3 separate regions of the Homo sapiens genome follow, and all the other regions are linked to region 2. Evidence: promoter capture Hi-C in 16 types of primary human blood cells and fetal thymus (Javierre and others, 2016). All regions are on one chromosome and are shown on one strand. Each heading gives the region's core, a stretch centred on a gene start or on the middle of the fragment in contact. The rest is flanking DNA. Distances are from core to core; before and after follow the strand shown. Region 1 holds the start of HTR3E (5-hydroxytryptamine receptor 3E). Region 2 holds the start of PSMD2 (proteasome 26S subunit ubiquitin receptor, non-ATPase 2). Region 3 overlaps LINC01839 (long intergenic non-protein coding RNA 1839).

Region 1 (3,545 bases), core at 310-2,809, 200 kb before region 2:
GAGACCCTGTCTCTAAAAAAAACAAAACAAAACAAAAAGCAAAACTCAGTGGACAGATTAGACACAGCTGAGGGCCGGGCACGGTGGCTCACGTCTGTAATCCCAGCATGGTGGCTCACAGTTGAGGGCCAGGCATGGTGGGAGACAGTGAAACCCTCTCTCTAAAAAACAAAAAAACAAAAAAACAAAACCAAAACTCAGTGGGCAGATTAGATGGACAGATTAGACACAGTTGAGGGTCAAGCACAGTGGCTCACTCCTGTAATCCCAGCACTTTGGAAGGCCGAGGTGGGCAGATCAGCTGAGGTGAGGAGTTCAAGACCAGCCTGGACAACATGGTGAAACCCTGTCTCTAATAAAAATACAAAAATTAGCTGGGTGTGGTGGCACAAGCCTGTAGTCCCAACTACTCAGGAGGCTGAGACAGGAGAATCGCTCAAATCAAGGAGGTGGAGGCTGTAGTGAGCCAAGATCACGCCACTGCACTCTAGCCTGGGCAACAGAATGAGACTCCATCTCAAAATAAAATAAAATATGGAAGGCATCCATACTTGCATTTTGCATTCTTCGTATGTAATCATATTGTCAAAGACAAATTATGTCATAATCTATTGTAAATAACACTTTTCCCCAGACCTACCATAAAGTTTCTGCAATGTATTGTCTTCCAGTTGCAATAAAAATTACTGAGTTTCATCAAAAATTAATTAATTAATTAATTAAAATAAACACAGTTGAGGAGAGAATTTTTTTCCTGGAAGCTAGATCTGAAGAAATCATTAGGGACAGAGATAAAGAGGTAGAAAATAGGAAAGAGAGGTGTGCTAGGCAGAATAACGGCCCCCAGAATTTGTCCACATCCTAATCTCTGGAACCTTAGGTTATATGGAAAAGGGGAGTTAAGGTTGCAGATGGAATTAAGGTTGTTAATTATCGGACTTTGAGATGGGGAGACTATCCTGGATTATCCAAATGGACACAATGCAATCACAAAGGCTCTTATAAGTGGAAGAAGGAGAGAGAAACAAATAAGAACCAGAGAGATGAGATGCCTTGTGAGAAACATTGGCCTGATGTTGCTGGTTTTGAAGATGGAGAAGTAAAAATAATGAACCAAGAAATACAGGCAGTTTAAAAGCTGGAAAAGGCCGGGTACAATGGCTCATGTCTATAATCCCAGCACTTTGGGAGATCAAGGTTGGAGGATCACTTGAGGCCAGGAGTTGGAGACAAGCCTAGGCAACAAAGCGAGACCTCATTTCTACTAAAAAAAAAAAAAATAGCCAAGCTTGGTGGCTCACACCTGTGAGGTCCCAGCTACTTGGGAGGCTGAGACGGAAAGATCCCTTGAGCCCAGGAGGTCAAGGCTGCAGTGAGTCGCGATTGCGCCACTGCACTCCAGCCTGGTCAACAGAGTGAAACCCTGTCTCAAAAAAAAAAAAATCTGGAAAAGGCAAGGAAATGGATTCTCCTCTAGAGCCTCCAGAGGGAATGCGGTCCTGCTGACACATTCATTTTAGCCCAGTGAGACCCATTTCAAACTTCTGGCCCACAGAACAGTAAAATAACAAATTGTGTTTATTTAAGCCACTGGGTTTGTGATTTGTTACAACAGCAATAAAAGGCATGTAAGATAGAAGGAAACCATTCAACACATGTCTAATAAGAAAAATAGAGGAAGTGAAACATTTATAAATGTCTGAGAATTTTCCAAAATTGAAGAGATGAGTCTTCAGACCAAGGGATCTCACCAAGATCTGCAAGTTGATCACGTATGAACTATCTATAACCATTTACGTTGCAGTGAAATACCTAAGACTAAGATAAAGTCTTAAAAGCAGACTGAACCTTAAGCATAGGCAAGAACAAGACAACCAGAACACTCTTTGAAGGAAGGTTACAAATGTCAGTGGTCAACCAATGCTATTAGTATTCAAAGTCAGACTCTAGGTGTGGCCTGTGCTGCTTTAATCTGGGCATTCCTGGGTCCCAGTACATGTTCAGAGAAGAACTTAGACAAAGAAGATGGAAGGAAGCTGGTTCCACAGGAAAAGATTTTCCTTCTACCTCCTTCTCGGTTTTCTGCTTCAAGGTAAGAAAGGAGCAATGATGGGGGAAGGCGGAAGAAGGAGGACCTCTCTCTAGTAGAACATCTAGGAACTTTTTTCAAATTTCCAACTCCTAGAGATTGTCTAAGATGGATAGAGTTCTTTCATAGCTACATTACTAAGATGCCCACATAGACTTTCCTTTTCTGAAAGACGGAAAATCCCCTTCCAGTTACATGCCAAACAAGAGCACTTTCATTTTCCTTCTCGAAAAATAGAGTTCAACACCAGCAAACTTTATCCTTTCACATATGGATATCCAGTTTTCCCAATACTACTTGAAAAGTCTGTCTTTTCTCCATTGGTACCCTACATGGAAGACAACCATCCACGATCGTCTTCTCTTGTATTTAGCTTCTATATCCATCCATCTTTCTATCCACAGGTGTAATTCTTTCTCTCTACAGGTATGAAACCCAAACCATTGTAGCAAAGTGCCCACCTCCTTTAGCCATAATTTCCCTGTCCATCTGCTGGATCCAAGGGCTCTAGGTTAGGTAAGGTGCCAGAAGGCAGCAGGTCAAGGGTGAAAGTAGAATGTGCTTCTCTTCCAGGGGGTCAGCATGGTAGAGAGACAAGAACATGGGATTTGGAGACAGGTGGACCTGGGTTTGAATCTTGGTGTCTCACGTTGCTAGTTTTATAAACTTGGATGCACTGCTTAACTTATCTGAGCTCTGGTTTCCTCATCTGTAAAACAGAACCTACCTTGCAGGGTTGTGAGGATTCAGTAAGAGAAGGAGGGAAGCACAGTGTCTGGCACTTGGTAAAAGTGCCAATAACTGTCATCTCTCCTCGTTAGATTATTCCATGACTTTGGATAAGGAGGCACAGGAGAGGACTGAACCAGAGGTGACTTTAAAGGCCAGCACAGGGAAGAGACACAAATTGTACACCTGGTCTAGGCAGTGTAAATGGTTATGAAAGCTCCTCTGGGCACTTGCACACAGGGGTTGACAAATGAATATTCACTGTTCTTAGAGTGGTTTAAGAATTTGCTGGAAAGCACTGTGACGTTGGGAATGGATAAGGCTCAATGTCCTTGGCACAGAGGTTATCAACCATCTCTCTCAGTCCAAGTTGTTGCTCCTCCAACACATTTTCATGACTAGAAAATTTAAAAATTTATTAGTTAGAAGAGGGTGGGACGGGTCAGGTGAGGTGGCTCACACCTGTAATCCCAGCACTTGGGACGCTGAGGCAGGCGGATCACCTGAGGTCAAGAGTTCAAGACCAGCCTGGCTAACATGGTGAAACCCCATCTCTACTAAAAATACAAAAACTAGCCTGATGTGGTGGTAGTGCCTGTAATCCCAGTTACTTGGGAGGCTGAGGCAGAAGAATCGGTTGAACCTGGGAGCCAGAGATTGCAGTGAGTCAAGATCGCACCACTGCACTCCAGCCTGGGTGACAGAGTGAGACTCCCTCTAAAAAAAA
Region 2 (3,549 bases), core at 1,050-3,549:
TGGCCAACATGGTGAATCCCCGTCTCGACTAAAAATACAAACATTAGCGGGGTGTGGTGGTGCATGCCTGTAGTCCCAGTTACTTGGGAGGCTGAAGCAGGAAAATCACCTGAACCCGGGAGGCAGAGGTTGCAGCAAGCTGAGATCATGCCACTGCACTCCAGCCTGGACGACAGAGCGAGACTCCGTCTGGAAAAAAAAAAAAAAAAGAAGAAGGAAGTCATGGATAAAGAGGAGTTTTAGAAAAAAATCCCTCTACAGATGACTGAAGAAAGCATGAAAATGTATGGACACCGTGAAGCCAGAGATAGAATAGGCAGAACAGTTATGGACTGTTGAATTTTTGTCTGCAGACCAGCGCTGGGGGAGTCATTGGCAATGGCAATGGAAGGTCATGCCTAGAATCCAAGCACTGAGTGGAAAAGAGCAACAGGTATTTAAAATGGATTCAGACCTTTACTTCCGTATCTACACAAACATTTACCCAACATTCACTCTGTGATATGTTGTACTAGGTGTCTTTTTCTTCAATGTGTCAGAACCCATAAAATAAGATTGCTAGAAGACTCCTGAGTGTTCCCACTAGGTGAAAGGGAGAAGAGATACTTCCTTTTTTCTCACCTTACACGCACACACACACACACACAGCTGAAGAAGAAACTCTGGGGTTTGCCTAAAACAGTCAAGGGCTTTGAAGACTGAAAGACTGAGCTTTAAATTTTGATTCCGCCGGGCGCGGTGGCTCACGCTTGTAATCCCAGAACTTTGGGAGGCCGAGGCGGGCGGATCACCTGAGGTCGGGAGTTGGAGACCAGCCTGACCAACATGGAGAAACCCCGTCTCTACTAAAAATACAAAAATTAGCCGGGCGTGGTGGCACAAAAATTCAACAGTCCATAACTGTTCTGCCTATTCTATCTCTGGCTTCACGGTGTCCATACATTTTCATGCTTTCTTCAGTCATCTGTAGAGGGATTTTTTTCTAAAACTCCTCTTTATCCAGCTACTCGGGAGGCTGAGGCAGGAGAATCACTTGCACCCGGGAGGCGAAGGTTGTGGTGAGCCGAGATTGCGCCATTGCACTCCAGCCTGGGCAACAGGAGAGAAACACTATCTCAAAACAAATAAATAAAATAAAAAATAAATCCTCATTTTACTACTTGATATGATCTTCTCTGTAAAATGGACCTAACCCTACCAATCTCAAAAGATTGTAAGAAGTGCATGGAATCACTCGAAAGCAGTCCTGACATAAGCGCGTCAGTCACACGCCTCTAAGGCTTCACAGGGAAAGACGAGAAGATAGAGGACGAAGACCTTGTCTTGTTCTGCTTTTAGCTCCAGAACTTGGCGGGGAGCACAGGGCTTTATTGATCGATGTCAACTCCACCTGGCTCCCCAAAGTATTTAAAATGGTAGCCACGGGAATAGCAGAGTACTCTCTTTCAACTGGGGAGGAATATCAAATGAGGTTAATAGGCCGGGCGCGGTGGTTCACACCTGTAATTACAGCTCTTTGGGAGGCTGAGGCGGGCAGATCACTTGAGGTCAGGAGTTCGAGACCAGCCTGGCCAACATAGTGAAACCCCCGTCTCTACTAAAAAATACAAAAATTAGCTGGGCGTGGTGGCGGGCGCCTGTAATCCCAGCTACTCGGGAGGTTGAGGCACGAGAATCACTTGAACCTGGTAGGCGGAGTTTGCAGTGAGCCGAGATCGCGCCACTGCACTCCAGCCTGGGCGAGAGAGCGAGCCTCCTTCTCAAAAGCAACAACAACAACAAAACCAAATGAGGTTAATATTCCACAGTGGTGTGGGGCTAGACACAGTTACACAGACTTTATACAGGCGGCAATCAAGCGTCCTGGACGTCAAGAAATCTAGTTTGTCTGTCGCGCCACGCAGTCAACTGGAGTGTCACTGTGGGTTCTATTTACACCGTTATGAGAAAAACCTGTGGCGGAGTAAAACTCGGTAACTCCGCTCGCAGACCGCCCATCTACAGCAGTGAGCGAACCCAAACCCCACACGGCCAAGTCCCGCGGGTTTCAGGAAACTCCGAAGAGGTCGGGGGCCAGGGGCGACTATGGCGCGGGGGAGGCTGGGAATTGTAGTCTCCACCTGCCTCCGAGGGCGGGGTCCGAGGGCGGGGCTCTCAGGCCGAGGGGGTGGGTGGGTCGCCGAGCGCCCCGGCTCGCCCCGGCGTTTCCGGTCGCAGGCGGGCTCTGGAGGAGGAGGGGCGCCGCGACCGACGCGCGCGAGTTGGTCTGGGAAAAAGGGCGGTGCGAGCGGGTGCGCGCGCAGCGGGCCGGCAGTGGCGGCGGAGATGGAGGAGGGAGGCCGGGACAAGGCGCCGGTGCAGCCCCAGCAGTCTCCAGCGGCGGCCCCCGGCGGCACGGACGAGAAGCCGAGCGGCAAGGAGCGGCGGGATGCCGGGGACAAGGACAAAGAACAGGAGCTGGTGAGGCGCGACCCCGAGAGTCGGCGAAGGAGGCTGCGGGGCTGAGTCACGGCGGCTCCGCAGGCCTCAGGCCCGACACCCAACTACCCCACCGCGCCAGGGAGAGGGCGGTTGGGGCGACCCTCGGGACTCCCGGCACCTTGCCTCTCTGCTCCTCATTCTCCGTTCCGCGCTGTCACCTCCGCCGTCCCCACCAACCCTCACCACCGCCGCGTGAAGTGGACTCGGGCAGGTCATTGTCACCTCCGTTTCCTAGAGTGGCATTCAAGTAGAGCCTGATTCAGAACCCAGGCTGATTTCTCACCAGGGCTTCCCATTCCCACTCGGTTTCCTTGTCCACCTGGCCCCTCCTAAGGAGGCAGGCTTATTCTTCACCTGCCCCGGGTAAGTGGGAGGAGGACGTCTTTGGGATTCCTTCTCTTCATGAGCTGCTTCTCCCAACCCTCCAGTCTGAAGAGGATAAACAGCTTCAAGATGAACTGGAGATGCTCGTGGAACGACTAGGGGTGAGTCACGATGTTAACATGATTCGGTGCATGTTTGGATCTTTCCCACTTGTTTTATTCTTTTTTGAGGCAACTGCTATGTACGGTGGACTGTATTTTAGGGTCAGTGTTATGATGATGTTGGGAGGCAGGAGAGTTACAAAGGGTATTTGTACAGTTTTGCAGCTTTCTCTTGTGGGAGAAGCAGAGTTCTTACCTCTTAACTTGGGTCATTTGTTTTTGTGCCAGGCAGGGTGCAGGGAGTTGAGGAATCACAGATGAATGAATAAGACACAGCATTTCCTTGGAGGAGTTGTTAAGTTAAATATCTCTGTATTATGACTTGAAGGGGTGTGACTCCTTTTTGTCTGAGCCCTGTCGTCTCTTGATCAGGAGAAGGATACATCCCTGTATCGACCAGCGCTGGAGGAATTGCGAAGGCAGATTCGTTCTTCTACAACTTCCATGACTTCAGTGCCCAAGCCTCTCAAATTTCTGCGTCCACACTATGGCAAACTGAAGGAAATCTATGAGAACATGGCCCCTGGGGAGAATAAGGTAAAACTGTTTCAAACCTGGTGGAGGCCTAGTTTAGGAATTCCTT
Region 3 (3,386 bases), core at 86-2,585, 230 kb after region 2:
AAACCAACAAGAAAATGTCAACAACCAATAGAAAAATAGGAAAAAGTTATGATCAAGACTTTACAGTATAAAAAATACCAATAAACATAGGAACAAATGCCTGACCTCTAACCCCATGGTAATTAGGGAAATGCAAATTTAAACCATGAGAAGTAACCACACCCATTACACTGGAAAAGAACTGACGTGATGAGAGGCAGTGTTGAGGGCTGGGAGTGTTACTACAATGACTCATCTGCTGCTGGCAAGATCGCTTTGGAGAACGACTGGGCAGTAATTTGTAGCACTGAAGTTAGGCATCCCTTGCAATGTCTGTGGCCAATGCTAGGTGCACTCCATAGAAACTCACATGTGCACAAGAAGACACAGACCAGAATGTTCATCGCGGCACTGTTTGTAATAAGAACAAAATGGAAACATTCTAAATTTTCACAGCAGGAGAATGGATCAATACATTTAGTATGATATTAACAAGTCTACTATACTGCAGTGAAAATGATTTTTTATTTCTTAAAAAACAACAAACATATGTAGTGCCATGTGCCAGGCTCTGCTCTACGTTTTTGAGAAATATTAAGTCATATTTACTGAATGAACCAGAGCCAGATTCATCAACATGAGTCGACATGGATGAATCCCCAGAGCACCAAGTTGACTTAAAAAAGCAAGTCAAAGGAGTGTGCATAATACTTTGTCATATATGTCAAGTTTGAAATACTTATATAATGTTTAGGAATCCACTCATATGTAATAAAGATAGTGAGAAGTCACCTCAGGGATGAGGGTGAGGAAGGTGGTGAAGAGGGTCCCTAAGGGGCTTCAGCAGTGAGGTTGCTCCATTCCCCATGATTATTGATGGGTAAGTTCTTCTCTATACCTTGATATGTATCTGAAATAGTTCATAAAAAAGTTTTTTCAAAAGAAAAAAAAAGCACCCATTCCTATTTAAAATGTATTTCTTCCAGTCTTTCCACTATGCTTAGTTTATATACTTGTGATTATCTTGTGTATACAAACTCACCTTGTGCCTTTTACAGAATGAGAAAATTTCCTTATACTATCGAAAACTTTTCAGAAATGTTATCAATGACAGAATGATATCACAACTGTGGATACACCATAATGTATTTATCAGTGCCCAACTAGTTGATTCCAATTTTAGATAATTTTTTTTCTCATTTTTCAGTGCAAAGAATGTCTGTGTCCATAAAAGCTTTGGGGGAATATTTGGGATTATTTCTTCTGATGCATGACCACTACTAGAACCACAATATCAAACAGTGTGAGCATTCAAAGACTCTAACTCTGTATTATTACATTTTGCCAAAACAGCTAGACCAGTTCCGCCCCCCTCCCCCGTCCCTGACTGTGCCCGGATCACTCCACTTCCTCTGTAGCTCTGTCAGCCCTAAACAGTTTCCTTTTAAAAAGCCCTTACTATTTTGATCGGTGACAATGGAAGCTTATTTGTATTGTTTTGAGAACACCCCCCACAAACGCACGTAAAACCTCTATAAAGGGAGAACCGCCTTGCTGCTGAGGGCGCGGTGGGACCCGTCGCAGGGCCAGCTGCTCCGGCAGGTGCCCCCAAAGGGTCCCGCAGGTGATCCTCGGGGACTGAGCGCCCATCGCCCTTCCTACGCACTCAGATCCGCCGAGCCCAGCGCCCGCCAGAGCCCAGAGAGTCCTCGGGGTCAGAGTGGTCACGTCACCGTCATTCTTTTCCTGCCCGACTAGTCGCTCTGGGCTCCCCGGGGCCGGGGGCCGGGGGCCGAGCCGCCGCCCCGATTCCGGCTTCACCCGCCCGCAGCGCGCGGCGCCCCGCGCTCCATTCGCGCTACCTGGCGGCTGGCAGGCTGCCCCACCCCACCGCGGGCCACACACAGCCAGGGTGGGACCCCGGCCGCTTTCTCTTTCCCAGGGAGAGGACTGGAATTTGGGGGGGAGGTGGGAATTGAGGAAGTCGGGAAGGGAGGAGTAGAGAGGTGGGTGAGAAGGGGGAGGATGCTTCTAGAAGGCGGGTGAGGGAGCTGGGGAGGCCAGGAAGGGGAGGAAGGGGTAAGAGGTGCGGGAGGGCCTAACGGGGAGACTCCGGGGGCAATCAGTGGGTATTCACAGGGAGCTGGGCGCGAGCATCAGCGGGATGAAAGGCAGGTCAGGGCTTGCCCGTCAGGTCCGGACTGCGCCCTGGAGGGGCTCCCAGTAGAGCCTGCGCAGGAGCGCGGGGAGCGCGCAGCCCAGGCCTCTGGCCAGGTGGAGCAAGAGGAGGGCGGAGGTGGACAGCGCATCTCGCCCGTGGAGGACGGGCAAGGACGCCGCCTGCCCAGCTGTTGGAGTCTCCTGGGCACGGACTGAGGGGGAGGGTCTGAAGAGCCCAGAGATCCCAGAGGGACCAGCTTCTTGTTACAGGGAAAATCCTCACCACCGAGAGATGCAATGAGTGAATCACGGTCTAGCCCTGTTTGGGAGACTCTGTGGCCATTAAAAATGGCGATGCTCCCCAGAGTGTGTGGGGCACAGGAATCCTCTAGGGGGCTTACGAAAATGCAGATTCCGGTTCGGGCCTGACATTCTGCTCTTCTCACAAGCCCCCTGGCTCCTGCTATTGATGTAGAGCTAGCTTTAGATTGTACGGTAAAGGGAAAACCAGTAGGTGTGGGATGAGCCCATTTTGGTTCTTTGAAAAATGTGTTTCTTACACAAACACACAAACACATATACATATGCAGGAAATAAGATGCAAAAAACAAGAAAACACCAACTATGTTTTTCCCTAAGAGATGGGATTCTAGTCGATCTAAATTTTCTACTTTTTGCTTATCTCTATTTCCTGAATTTTCTTCAGTAAACATACATTCCTATTGTAAGAAAAAAGATTCTCGCAAAACCGTAGAAGTTACTTATTTCAAGGAGAGTGTAGGAGTCAAGGGAAAGCCTCCTTTGAAGGTTTACTAAAAATCACTGACAAAAGGCAGATTAACGGGAAAAAATGCATACAAATTTATTTGATCACAGTTTATGTGACATGGGAGCCTTTAGAATGACAACCCAAAGATACAAGAGAAGCTGTTTTTTGTTTTTGTTTTTGAGACGGAGTCTCTCTGTCGCCAGGCTGGAGTGCAGTGGTGCGATCTCGGCGCACTGCAACCTCTGCCTCCCAGGTTCAAGCGATTCTCCTGCCTCAGCCTCCTTAGTAGCTGGGACTACAGGTGCGCGCCACCACGCCCAGCTAATTTATTTCTGTATTTTTTAGTAGAGACGGGGTTTCACCATATTGGTCAGGCTGGTCTCAAACTCCTGACCTTTCCTTCTGGGGATGGGGCAGGGCCCCTCTTTGGAATGGGGTCCTATGAACTACAATCAAACAAAGTAGTCCAGGCACGGTG

The links. The method cuts DNA at HindIII sites, captures the fragments that hold promoters and counts their contacts. A CHiCAGO score of 5 or more calls a contact.
Region 1: a contact is called between the fragment with the promoter of HTR3E here and the fragment with the promoter of PSMD2 in region 2, in 4 of 17 cell types (M0 macrophages, endothelial precursors, M1 macrophages and 1 more). The highest score is 8.3, in M0 macrophages.
Region 3: a fragment that was not itself captured here is called in contact with the fragment with the promoter of PSMD2 in region 2 in 1 of 17 cell types (total B cells); the score reaches 6.0 in total B cells.

Annotation. Positions count from the first base shown.
Region 1 is chr3:184,095,505-184,099,049 of GRCh38, forward strand. It overlaps HTR3E (5-hydroxytryptamine receptor 3E), which reads left to right and starts at 1,560. Exons shown (of 9, transcript NM_001256613.2): 1 at 1,560-2,092. The coding sequence starts at 2,026. All of the region lies in intron 2 of HTR3E-AS1 (HTR3E antisense RNA 1), which reads right to left. The HindIII fragment of the contact is 4,461 bases long and covers 1,287-3,545 here.
Region 2 is chr3:184,296,942-184,300,490 of GRCh38, forward strand. PSMD2 (proteasome 26S subunit ubiquitin receptor, non-ATPase 2) reads left to right here and starts at 2,300. Exons shown (of 21, transcript NM_002808.5): 1 at 2,300-2,460; 2 at 2,910-2,966; 3 at 3,339-3,503. The coding sequence starts at 2,326. RefSeq lists a silencer at 1,968-2,307. The HindIII fragment of the contact is 6,965 bases long and covers 1-3,549 here.
Region 3 is chr3:184,523,801-184,527,186 of GRCh38, forward strand. The region is part of intron 6 of LINC01839 (long intergenic non-protein coding RNA 1839); the gene reads left to right. Among named protein-coding and RNA genes, the nearest start is that of LINC01840, 31 kb to the right of the region's middle. RefSeq lists enhancers at 1,196-2,000, 2,001-2,803. The HindIII fragment of the contact is 249 bases long and covers 1,212-1,460 here.